2 separate regions of the Homo sapiens genome follow, and region 1 is linked to region 2. Evidence: promoter capture Hi-C in 16 types of primary human blood cells and fetal thymus (Javierre and others, 2016). All regions are on one chromosome and are shown on one strand. The core of a region is centred on a gene start or on the middle of the fragment in contact, and the rest is flanking DNA. Distances in the headings are between cores, read along the strand shown.

Evidence for each region. Contacts are between HindIII fragments. The CHiCAGO score rates a contact against its expected background, and 5 or more counts as called.
Region 1: a contact is called between a fragment that was not itself captured here and the fragment with the promoter of SLC35D4 in region 2, in 1 of 17 cell types (neutrophils). The highest score is 5.9, in neutrophils.

What each region holds. Positions count from the first base shown.
Region 1 is chr18:23,592,729-23,598,265 of GRCh38, forward strand. No RefSeq gene overlaps it. Among named protein-coding and RNA genes, the nearest start is that of NPC1, 9.0 kb to the left of the region's middle. The HindIII fragment of the contact is 6,264 bases long and covers 1-4,613 here.
Region 2 is chr18:23,436,034-23,441,506 of GRCh38, forward strand. It overlaps SLC35D4 (solute carrier family 35 member D4), which reads right to left and starts at 1,928. Exons shown (of 15, transcript NM_032933.6): 1 at 1,748-1,928. The coding sequence starts at 1,819. RefSeq lists a silencer at 1,957-2,056. The HindIII fragment of the contact is 5,255 bases long and covers 1-3,358 here.

The DNA of each region.
Region 1 (5,537 bases), core at 232-2,731, 160 kb after region 2:
AGGATCTGCTGTTGAAGATGCTGTGGGAAGCTGGGCTCGGTGGCTCACACCTGTAATCCCAGCACTTTGGGAGGCCAAGGTGGGCGGATCACTTGAGGTCAGGAGTTCGAGACCAGCCTGGCCAACATGGTGAAACCCTGTCTCCACTAAAAATACAAAAATTAGCCGGGCATGGTTGCACATGTCTGTAATCTCAACTACTCGGGAGGCTGAGGCAGGTGAATTGCTTGAACCCAGGAGGCCGAGGTTCCAGTGAGCTGAGATCATGCCACTGCACTCCTGCCTGGGTGACTGAGCAAGACTCTGTCTCAAAAAAAAAAAAAAAAAAGATGCTGTGGGAAGGAGGCCTCAGTTCCTCCTCTCCATAGGCTGCTGAGTGTCCTCAGGACTTGGCAGCTGGCTTCCTCCAGAAGGAGTGATCCAAAAGGGATTGAGAGCAAGGCAGAGCCATAATGTCTGTTATGAGTTAGCCTCAAATGTTATATGCCATCACTTCTGCCATGTAATACTGGGCACACAGACCAGTCCTGATGCAGTGTAGGAAGGGGACCAGACAAGGACAAGAGGAGGGGAGCACTGGGGCCATCTTGGAGGCTGGCAACCACAACATCCATGTAGCCAACACCCAGAGGAAGGATATGGAAACTTTAGCACTTCAGAAGCCTCCTTTATGCCCCTTTCCCAGTCGATATCATCACCCCTCCTTTAACCGGGAGGCAACCACTCTTCTGATTTCTCTCACTGTAAGTTGGTTTTGCCTGTCCTTGAACTTCATGTAAAGGGAATCATACTCCTCTGCGTCTGGTTTCTTTCACTGAACATTATGTGTGTGGCTCATCCACATTACTTGTGGTGGTAGCATCTTTTAAAAGAATTGCTGTGTAGTATTCCATGGCTCAAACATATCATGGCAGACATCTGGGTTGTTTCTTCTTCCAGTTTGGGCTGTTACAAATAAAGGTGCTGTGAGCACTGTTGTACAGGTCATGTGTTCAGTATACACACTCAATTACTTTGGGTTCTGTGATAGACTTTTTAAACTCTTTACTTACGCAAGCCAAATTTTATAGACATCTTCATTTAAAATAGCTTACAGCTACAACTCATGACTTTAGTACCAATGGTTATGACCTACTCGGAAATGGGCATTGTTGCTCAGAATTCTGGTAAAATGTTACTCATCCTAGTAAGGAAGGATGTTTGAGTTGGTGATTAATCCAGTCATGGGTTGTGGTGTAACTTCCACTCAGTTAGGATGCTACCAGAGTTGGAATGACTTGTGGTTTAGCAGTCAGGGTTTCAAACTGGCATTGCCTTCCCTGCAGGATTTGCTCACAGGACATAGTTTCCTTTGCCAGGGGTGGTTTTTGATCAAATGTTTCCTAAAATGGAGAGTCCAACTCCTGTAAACTGAAGACTTTCTAAGACTATTCTTAAAACTTGAAATGTAGGAATAACAACAGCATTTCACTCATTAAAGCTCGGAGGATTCAATCCTAGTGAGGGAGGGAAGAAGAACCAAAGATAGCGGAAGGAATTTTTTCTGTTGACAGAGATAAGGCTGACATGTCACCTAAGAACTGAAGATCTTTAATTAACTTCCTTTATGTTATTTTTATTTTACTTTATTTTATTTTTACTTTTTGAGATGGAGTCACACTCTGTCGCCCAGGCTGGAGTTCAGTGGTGCGATCTTGGCTCACTGCAACCTCCGCCTCCTGGGTTCAAGTGATTTTCCTGCCTCAGCCTCCTGAGTAGCTGGGATTATGGGCGCCCACCACCACACCTGGCTAATTTATTAAGTTTTAGTAGGGACAGGGTTTCGGCATGTTGGCCAGGCTGGTCTCGACCTCCTGGCCTCAAGTGATCTGCCCGCCTTGGCCTCCCAAAGTGCTGGGATTATAGATGTGAGCCACTGTGCCTAGCTGAATTCCTTTGTTGAAACATAACCTCATTCATATTAATAAATTAATTTTTTTTTTGAGAGAGAGGGAATTGCTCTATTACCCAGGCTGGAGTGCAGTAGTGAGATCACAGCTCGACCTCCCAAGGCTCAAGTGATCCTCCTACCTTAGCCTCCTGAGTAGCTGGGACTTCTGGCACACACCACCATGCCAGGCTAATTTTTTGTATTTTTTGTACAGACGGAGTCTCACTTTGTTGCCCAGGCTAGTCTCAAACTCTTGGGCTCAAGTGCTTTTCCCACCCCAGCCTCCCAAAGTGCTGGGATTAGAAGCATGAGCCACCATGCCTAGCCTCACTCATATTTTAAAATTACCTGAAAGTATTGCTAAAAATAAGGATTAGGTCACCAGGAAAAGAATCGAAGACTTTCCAGACCCAGTGATACATAGGTTATTTAACTGAGGGCTAAGTATAGTCAGAGGGCCCAGAGAAAACACCTCTGTGTGACTAGTTTACCCTCCATGTGTTCATTACATTAAGCAGAAGAATAATTATTTTCACATTTCTCGACTAGAATGTCTAATGCTAGTTTTGCCTGTCATTTTTTGTTTTTGTTTTTCTCCATGCTTTGAAGTACAAATACTAGGGTCTGAGCTGCTATGGCTCAATGGCATGAAATATCATAACATGGTGTGGCTTTGTTCACAGCCAGGCATGTTCTAAGCACTTTAGCATCTTTTCACAGTGAGATGAAGTTCACCAATTTGGCTGGGCAAGGTGGCTCATGCCTGTAATCCTAGCACTTTGAGAGGCCAAGGCAGGCAGATCGCTTGAGTCCAAGATTTGGAGGCCAGCCTGGGCAACATGGCGAAACTCCAGCTTTACCAAAATACGAAAGTTAGCCAGGCATGGTGGTGCGTGCCTGTAGTCCCAGCTACTTGGTAGGCTGAGGAAGGAGGATCGTTCGAACCCAGGATGCAGAGGTTGCAGTGAGTTGAGATCGTGCCATTACACTCCATCTTGGGTGACAGACCAGGACCCTGTCTCAAAAAAAAAAAAAATCACCAATTAAAACCAATCAACCAGCATAGGTATAGATCCGCAACCATAAATTATCTCATTTGACCAGGCCTGTTTGCATTGCACCACGCCTATTTGCATCTCTATAGGGTGGTACCAAGTCTGTTTTTTTCATGTTGCCTTAGTCTTAGTACAGAGCAGAGGCAATGCACACTGATAGTTGGCCGGTGATTCCTAGAAAGCATCAGGAGTATCTTCACAAATACAATTCTATCCAGTGAGGAGTAGAATCATTTCAAGGGAATAATTTTATTTAATTTAACGTTAGCTCCAGGTCCACTCACCAATCCTTATCCATAATCTCCATTACAAGGCCAGAATTCTTTTTTTTTTCTTTTTTTTTTTAGATGGAGTCTCACTCTGTAGCCCAGGCTGGAGTGCAGTGGCACGATCTCGGCCCACTGCAACCTCTGCCTCCCGGGTTCAAGCGATTCTCCTGCCTCAGCCTCCCGAGTAGCTGGGATTACAGGTACCTGCCCCTGTGCCCGGCTAATTTTTGTAGTTTTAGTAGAGATGGGGTTTCAACATCTTGACCAGGCTGGTCTTGGAACTCCTGACCTCGTGATCCACCCTCCTCGGCCTCCCAAACTGCTGGGATTACAGGCAAGAGCCACCACGCCCAGCCACAAGGCCAGAATTCTTTGATGACTGAACAAGCTCATCAAAGACAGAGTGGTGGAGCAAAAGCAGCCTCGAGTTTCCCAGCCTTTGTGTCATATGGCCACACTTCTTCACGTGGTTCGCTGCCTGCTCTCCTCTCCTGGAGACCTTCTCCTTCCTCATTATGTTTCACTTCCTGCTCTTGTTCATTGTTTCATTCTCTTTGCTGAGTTCCCTTCTTTCAAAGTTTATTCTCAGTTTGCCATCTGTTTAAAAAAAAATGTATTAAATTTAGAGGCAGGGCCTTGCTATGTTGCCCAGGCTGGTCTTCAATTCCTGGGCTCAAGTAATCCTCCCGCCTCAGCCTCCCTTCAGACAGTAGCCACTATGCCCAGCCATTTTGCCATCTCTTTTATTCTCAGCAGATTCTCCGTGGGGACCTCATTCATCCCATGACTTTGACCATCACCTCTATGCAGATGATGCCTACACTAGTAACAACAGCCTTGTCCTAAACATTAATTTGTTATTTCCAACTGCCTTCTAGAATCTATTTCACAGATCCTTCCAAGTGAACATGTCCAAACTCTATCTCCTCACCCCAAATCTGCTATTCTTCCCTATTGCCTAACAAAGTTATTGGCTCATCCACCTTGTAAACTTTGTGGGCCAAGAAGAATTAACAAAGCCAGCCCAAGACTGCCTATCCTTAGGAAGTCCTGCTTACAAGGTTGGCCCTCAGCTGACAAACAGTTCCCTACACTGATATCAAACTTGCCCTAAATGATAAGAAGTATTCACTTTGCCTTAACTGTTTGTGCAAACAATGTGGTTTATACTGAATGCCTGTTTTCCTTCTGGAGGTCTTGATTTTTGGTAAATGCTAGGCAGAAGGGATCTATGTGACCAGCTCCCGGTTGAAACCCTGAGCACTAAGTCTTCAATGAGTTTCCTTGGTAGACAACACTTGCTGCCACAACTCGGTTGCTGGAGGAATTAAGCTCATTCTGTGGGAGAGGTTTCTCAGAAGCTTGCACCTGCTGTCTTCTATCTTTGCTCTATTTTCCTTTTGTCTTTGCTGATTTTGCTATGTGTCTTTTTGCTGTAATCTTAACCATGTATTTGAGTATACATGTATATGTAACCATGTATATGAGTATATTTATGAGTAAACTAGATATATGAGTCCTATGTCTTCCTAGCAAGTCACTACACCTGGGGATGATCTTGGGAATGCCTAACACACTTTAGCACAATTCTTAGCTCTCCTTTCTTTTCTTCATCCTCTATATTTAATTGTCACCAATTATCATTAACTCTACCTGCAAGTATTTTCAAAAACATGTCCCATATTCTCCACCTTCACTGCTCTGATGCTACAATTGTGACTCCATCTGGGCACCACTGCCTCCTCCACCTTCCCCCAGAAAGCAAAAGTAAAATTCCCAAGATTGGAGGACAGCACCAAGACACCACTACAAGGTAGACTGTCTTTCAAAGCCAGTTACCTCAACTGTAAGATGGGGATGGTAATAGTGTTTATTTCATAGGGTTGTTGTCAGGTGTAAATGAAAAAAATGCGTAACACTTTATAAGATTATCTATCTAAAGTGCTTAGCACGTAACAATCCTTTAACAAATTTTAGTTGCTGCTTTTATTTTTATTGATTTACTTATTTTGAGACAGGGTCTCACTCTATCACCCAGGCTGGAGTGTACCATTGCAGCCTCAACCTCCTGGACTCAAGCCATCCTCCCACCTCAGTCTCCCAAGTAGCTGGGACTGCAGGTGTGAACCACCACCATGTCCGGCTAATTTTTTTATTTTTAGAGAGATGGGCGTCTCACTATGTTGCCTAGGCTGGTCTTGATCTCCTGAACTCAAGTGATCCACCTCGCCTTGGCCTCCGAAAGTGCTGGGTTTACAGGCGTGAGCCACCGGGACTCCTCAC
Region 2 (5,473 bases), core at 678-3,177:
TTTTTTTTTTTTTTTTTTTTGAAACTGAGTCTTGCTCTGTTGCCCAGGCTGGAATGCGATCTCGGCTCACTACAACCTCCGCCTCTCAGGTTCAAGTGATTCTCCTACCTCAGCCACCTGAGTAGCTGGAATTACAGGCGCCTGCCACCACGCCTGGCTAATTTTTGTATTTTCAGTAGAGACGGGGTTTCGCCATGCTGGCCAGGCTGGTTTCGAACTCCTGGCCTCAAACAATCCACCCGCCTCGGCCTCCCAAAGTGCTGGGATTACAGGCGTGAGCCACCACGCCCGGGCCACAACAACAATTTCAAGAGGACTCTTTGTCCCATCTTAAAGTTAAGAAACTTAGGTTTAGAAAGAGTAAGGTTCCAAACGCCAAGTAAGTGGAGCCAGGAAGTAAAACCCATCACTGCCTCCCAGGAAGGCTGCATTTATGGACCTTCAAAGGCTTATCGCCATAACTAAAAATCAACTGGAGGCCAGGCGCAGTGGCTCACACCTGTAATCTCAGCATTTTGGAAGGCTGAGGCATGCGGATCACCTGAGGTCAGGAGTTCGAGACCAGCCTGGACAACATGGTGAAACCCCGTCTCTACTAAAAATACAAAAATTAGCCCAGCGTGGTGGCGCACACCTGTAGCCCCAGCTACTCACGAGGCTGAGGCAGGAGAATCGCTTGAACCCAGGAGGCAGAGGTTGCAGTGAGCCGAGATCACGTCACTGCACTCCAGCCTGGGTGACAGAGCGAGACTCTATCTCAAAAAAATAAAAATAAAAATCAACTGGAGAAGGAAAGGGGGTTGGGGAGCATCCTCTGAATATATAAAGGCAGCCATTCATTGTAGGAGAGGAGGTAGAAGGAAATGCTGTTTGTCGATGGTTCTTTTCCAGAGAGGAAGAGAGGAGAAAGGAAGAGCGGGGAGCAGGTGGGGAGCCCGCAGTAAGACCCCACAGTGGGGCCAGGTGGTCTTGCACCCTGTATTCCCACTTTGGCTGGGGCCAGCCCAGAGTCCAGGCCAGCAGGTAATGCCCCAGCCATGCCCACTCGGTCCTATTGGATCCAACCTTTCCCTGCGTGGTACCAAACCTAAAGCCAGCTTCCCTCTCCTTGCAAAACAAAACCCCAAAGCTGGCACCACTGCTTCTCTGCCTCCTCACCAAAAGGTTTTCATGATGTCATGACATTAGTTTAAACCTAAAACTAAATGTATGTTTTATTTTAAAAAATAATAATTCCATGAAAAACTCCTGAAGTGCTTACAATGGAGACGTACAAAAAAATTGATTCGGGAATCAGCAGTGTGAGGGGGAGACGGCTTAATCTCTTCTATTTAAAGGCTTCTGGAACTTCACGGGGGCTCTGGGACAGGGGCGTGTTTAGAAAAAAGGCAGGATGTGTCAGATTTCTTCTGACTCTTCCTCCCCGGGGGAGCAGGAGCCAATTGCTTGCTTTCTCTTAAAACTAGTCCACACAGCCCCAAACCAAGTTCCCGGGAAATGGCCAGCCCAAAAATCCTGTTTCCCTGGAGATGTACCGTGCTTTACAGTGCAGGAAACGGGGACAGTACAGGCTGGCAAATCCTATTTCTGAAAGAGCATCCCACACACGGAGGAGGTTCGCTCTCCATCTCCATCGCCACCAGGAAGAATGAGGTAAAAAGCAGGAGGAGGCTCCGTTTGTCACGGGAAGATTCTCCGACTCAAACCTCCCACGTGCAATCGCTGCCTCCCGCGCCCGCCCCCTCACCTTGTTCGTGAGGTAAGAAGCCAGGTAGCAGGTACAAAAGGTGAGGCCGACCAGAGACCTCCTCACGCACATCTGTCAACTCGTCCCCTTCTCGGGGATCCACGGTGCCTGCCCAAATCCCCTGGCCGCCGCCCGACCCCCGCAGCAGCAGCAGCGGCAGCGGCAGCAGCCGCCCAGAGACGGCCACGTGGCTCCGAGCTCCGCCAATCAGCGCGGGGACCGCCCCCGGCGTCTGCCTTCTTAAAGGGGCCGCGCCCTCGAAGGACGGTCATTCTTCTTTTATTTTTTATTTTTTATTTTTTTATCTTCTTTTAAAGAGTAGAAAGTGGCAGAAGAGGAAAAAAGCATACCGCAGTTCACAATACCCCATCAGTGTTTAAAGAAAAATGTTCATCGCTATCTCTAAACTATGAGACCAAAATATTACCCGTGCTTCACTGAATTTTCCCAATTTTCTCCACTGAGTCTGTAGCGCTTTGGCAAATGACACAAAAAAGGTAACAGCAACAAATGTTCACTTAAAAGAGGGAAGGTGAAGGAAGAAGGAACTGGAATTGAGTATAGGTTTTTTGAGTTTTGTTTGTATTTAAAGTCATTCCATTCTCTTGACATTTCTATAAAATAAGAACCCTTTCCCAAGCACAGCCCCTATTCCTATTCCTATTCCTAGTCTATAGGGTGGAAAACTGGACTCATGAGGCTTCCGGCAAATGTTAGTAAACATGCAAGAAAACCTATTGATGGACTTGGACAATAGCAAAAAGTGCCAGTGTTCTCTGCCTGTAGAAACACACAGATTTTCAGAAACACCCACACACGGGGAAACCATCACTCTTAAGCCACAGCAAAAGTCCTCCTGGCTCTCGGTGCTGGAGCAGTGGATGGAAAACGACACACCAACCCTTATGTAATTTTTCTGTTTTTCAGAAGCATGCCTTGTTTCTCTCTGCTCCCTCCAGCATTGAGGGAGGGCTGACCTCGGCTTGTCCCCTTGAAGCCACTCCCCAGCCACCACTGTCTCATCGCAGTCCTTTGCCTCTGCTCACTTTTCCACAGGTCTCTTCCTGGGCCTGCTGGTTGGTCTGCAGAGGGGACCAACATAGAGATGGAGGTAGGCTGGTCACCCCTTCCCTCCCTTTTCTCCCACAGTCTCCTTCAAACCACTTGTACAGATGGGTATAGCTTTCTCTACCAAGACTGGATGATATGGTTTGGCTGTGTCCCCAAATCTCATCTTGAATGGTAGCTTTCATAATTCCCACATGTTATGGGAAGGACCTGGTGGCAGATAATTGAATCATGGGGGCAGTTTCCCCCATATTCGTCTCGTGGTAGTGAATAAGTCTCCCCAGAGCTGATGGTCTTATAAGGGGAAACCCCTTTCGCTTGGCTCTCATTTTTTCTCTCTTGCCTGCCACCATGTAAGACGTGCCTTTTGCCTTCCACCATGATTATGAAGCCTCCCCAGCCCCGTGGAACTGTGAGTCCATTAAACCTCTTTTTCTTTATAAATTACCAAGTCTCGGGTAAGTCTTTATCAGCAGCGTGAAAACAGACTAGTACACTGGGTTATTAAAAAGCAAAAATACAGAACAGGAAGAGAGGAGATGAAGCTTCAAATGCACTAAATTTTCCTCTCCATAGAAATAAAATCATGTAAGAAGTTAACACTTCACAAGGAGGCCCCTTCACAAGCCTACACTCGCTTCTCACCTATCACTCTTGCCCCAGAGTTTGTGTCTCCCTCTCCAAAACACCAATCTTTAACGACAATTTAAAAAGATCATTGTGGCCAGGCGCGGTGGCTCATGCCTGTAATCCCAGCACTTTGGGAGGCCGAGGCAAGCAGATCACGAGGTCAGGAGATCGAGACCAACGTGGCTAACATGGTGAAACCCCGTGTCTACTAAAAAAATACCAAAAAAATTAGCCGGCCGTGGTGGCGAGCGCCTGTAGTCCCAGGTACTCGGGATGCTGAGGCAGGCGAATGGCGTGAACTTGAGAGGCGGAGCTTGCAGTGAGCCAAGATCGTGCCACTGCACTCCAGCCTGGGAGACAAAGTGAGACTCCGTCTCAAAAAAAAAAAAAAAAAAAAAAAAATCATTGTAACAAGACTAATAGAGATTTATAAAAGAAAAATTAGCAAACCAATACCACACTCTTAACCACTCACATAACCAATACCAACAGGTTGGTGTATCCTTCTACACCTTCCTCCGTATTCACATATCAACATATACCCATTTGTAATTTGTTGCCTCACGAAAATGGATCTAGCTATTCACATTGCTAAACAACTTACTTTTACAACTACAGGTCAACACATAGAGATTTAATTTTTTAAAAAAGCTGCAGGCATTCCATAGTATGGATATACCGTAATGTATTCAACCATTCTGCTGTTGACATAATTATGTTGTTTCTAGTCTTTTGCTACAACAAACAAGGCTATAATAAACATCTTTGTACATATGTCTTTACCTCCTGCTGGTTTAATTTCTGTAGAATAGATTCCCAACAGGAGGATTGCAGAATCACAGCGTGTGTGTATTTTCTTAAATCATTACTTTCCACTTCCCTTTACTTTCTGCCTGTGGGAATCCTACTTACATCTAGCTCTTCTCAAGCACTTCAGGCATAACTTATTCTCCTCTCTTTTCCAGTACTACTTTTTAATACGTATTACAATAATTAGCATCTTACGTTTTTTCCATATTGTGGTTCATGAAGAAAATGATAGTATTTGTTCAGAGCCCCAGGCCAAATTGCTGACACTGCTTAGAGTCTGAAATGCTTCCAGGCCTCCCTGAAGTTGAGGAGGAACTCCTGTAACTCTTGCCCAGCCACACCAGTTAAGAAGCTGTATTAGGCTGAGTGTGGTGGCTCACACCTATAATCCCGGCACTTTGGGAGGCTGGGGCGGGTGGATCACCTGAGGTCAGGAGTTCAAGACCAGTCTGGCCAACATGGTGAAACCCCATCTCTACTAAAAATACAAAAAATTAGCTGGGCATGGTGGAGTGTGCCTGTAATCCCAACACTTTGGGAGGCCAAGGTGGGCAGATCACCTGAGGTCAGGAGTTCAAGACCAGCCTGGCCAACATGGCGAAACCCCATCTCTATTAAAAATACAAAAGATTAGCTGGGCATGGTGGGGTACGCCTGCAATCCCAGCTACTTGGGAGGCTGAGGCAGGAGAATCACTTGAACCTGGGAGCCGGAGGTTGCAGTGAGCCAAGATCACACCACTGCACTCCAGGCTGGGTGACAGAGCAATACCCTTTCCCCCAAAAAAATTAAAACAATAAAAAGAAGCTGTATTAGAGTCAGGGTGATGCATACCCTCTCTCCTCAGCCACATGGCAGCTCTTGGAGCACATAGGCGTCCCTATGCTTAGCTCAGTGCCTTACACAAACTAGGTACACTGATAAAGGCATGTTGAAGGAATCTATCAACTGAATGAATGCATCAATGAAGTGATGTAGGAATGGGATTTTAAAATGTCAAATAGCATGGAACACATATAATACCAAAAAGGCCTGGAATCCATAACACAAAAGACACCTACAGTCACCAGCTTGCCACATGGACATCAAACAACCTCACAGGAGACTGCCTTTAAAGGGATATTGCTATTAAGAGGATAACGACTATAGCAAATGAGTAACTTAAATTGCATTGGCAGAAACACTTTTGTTGGTAAACTTCTTTGCTAGTTGTTATTG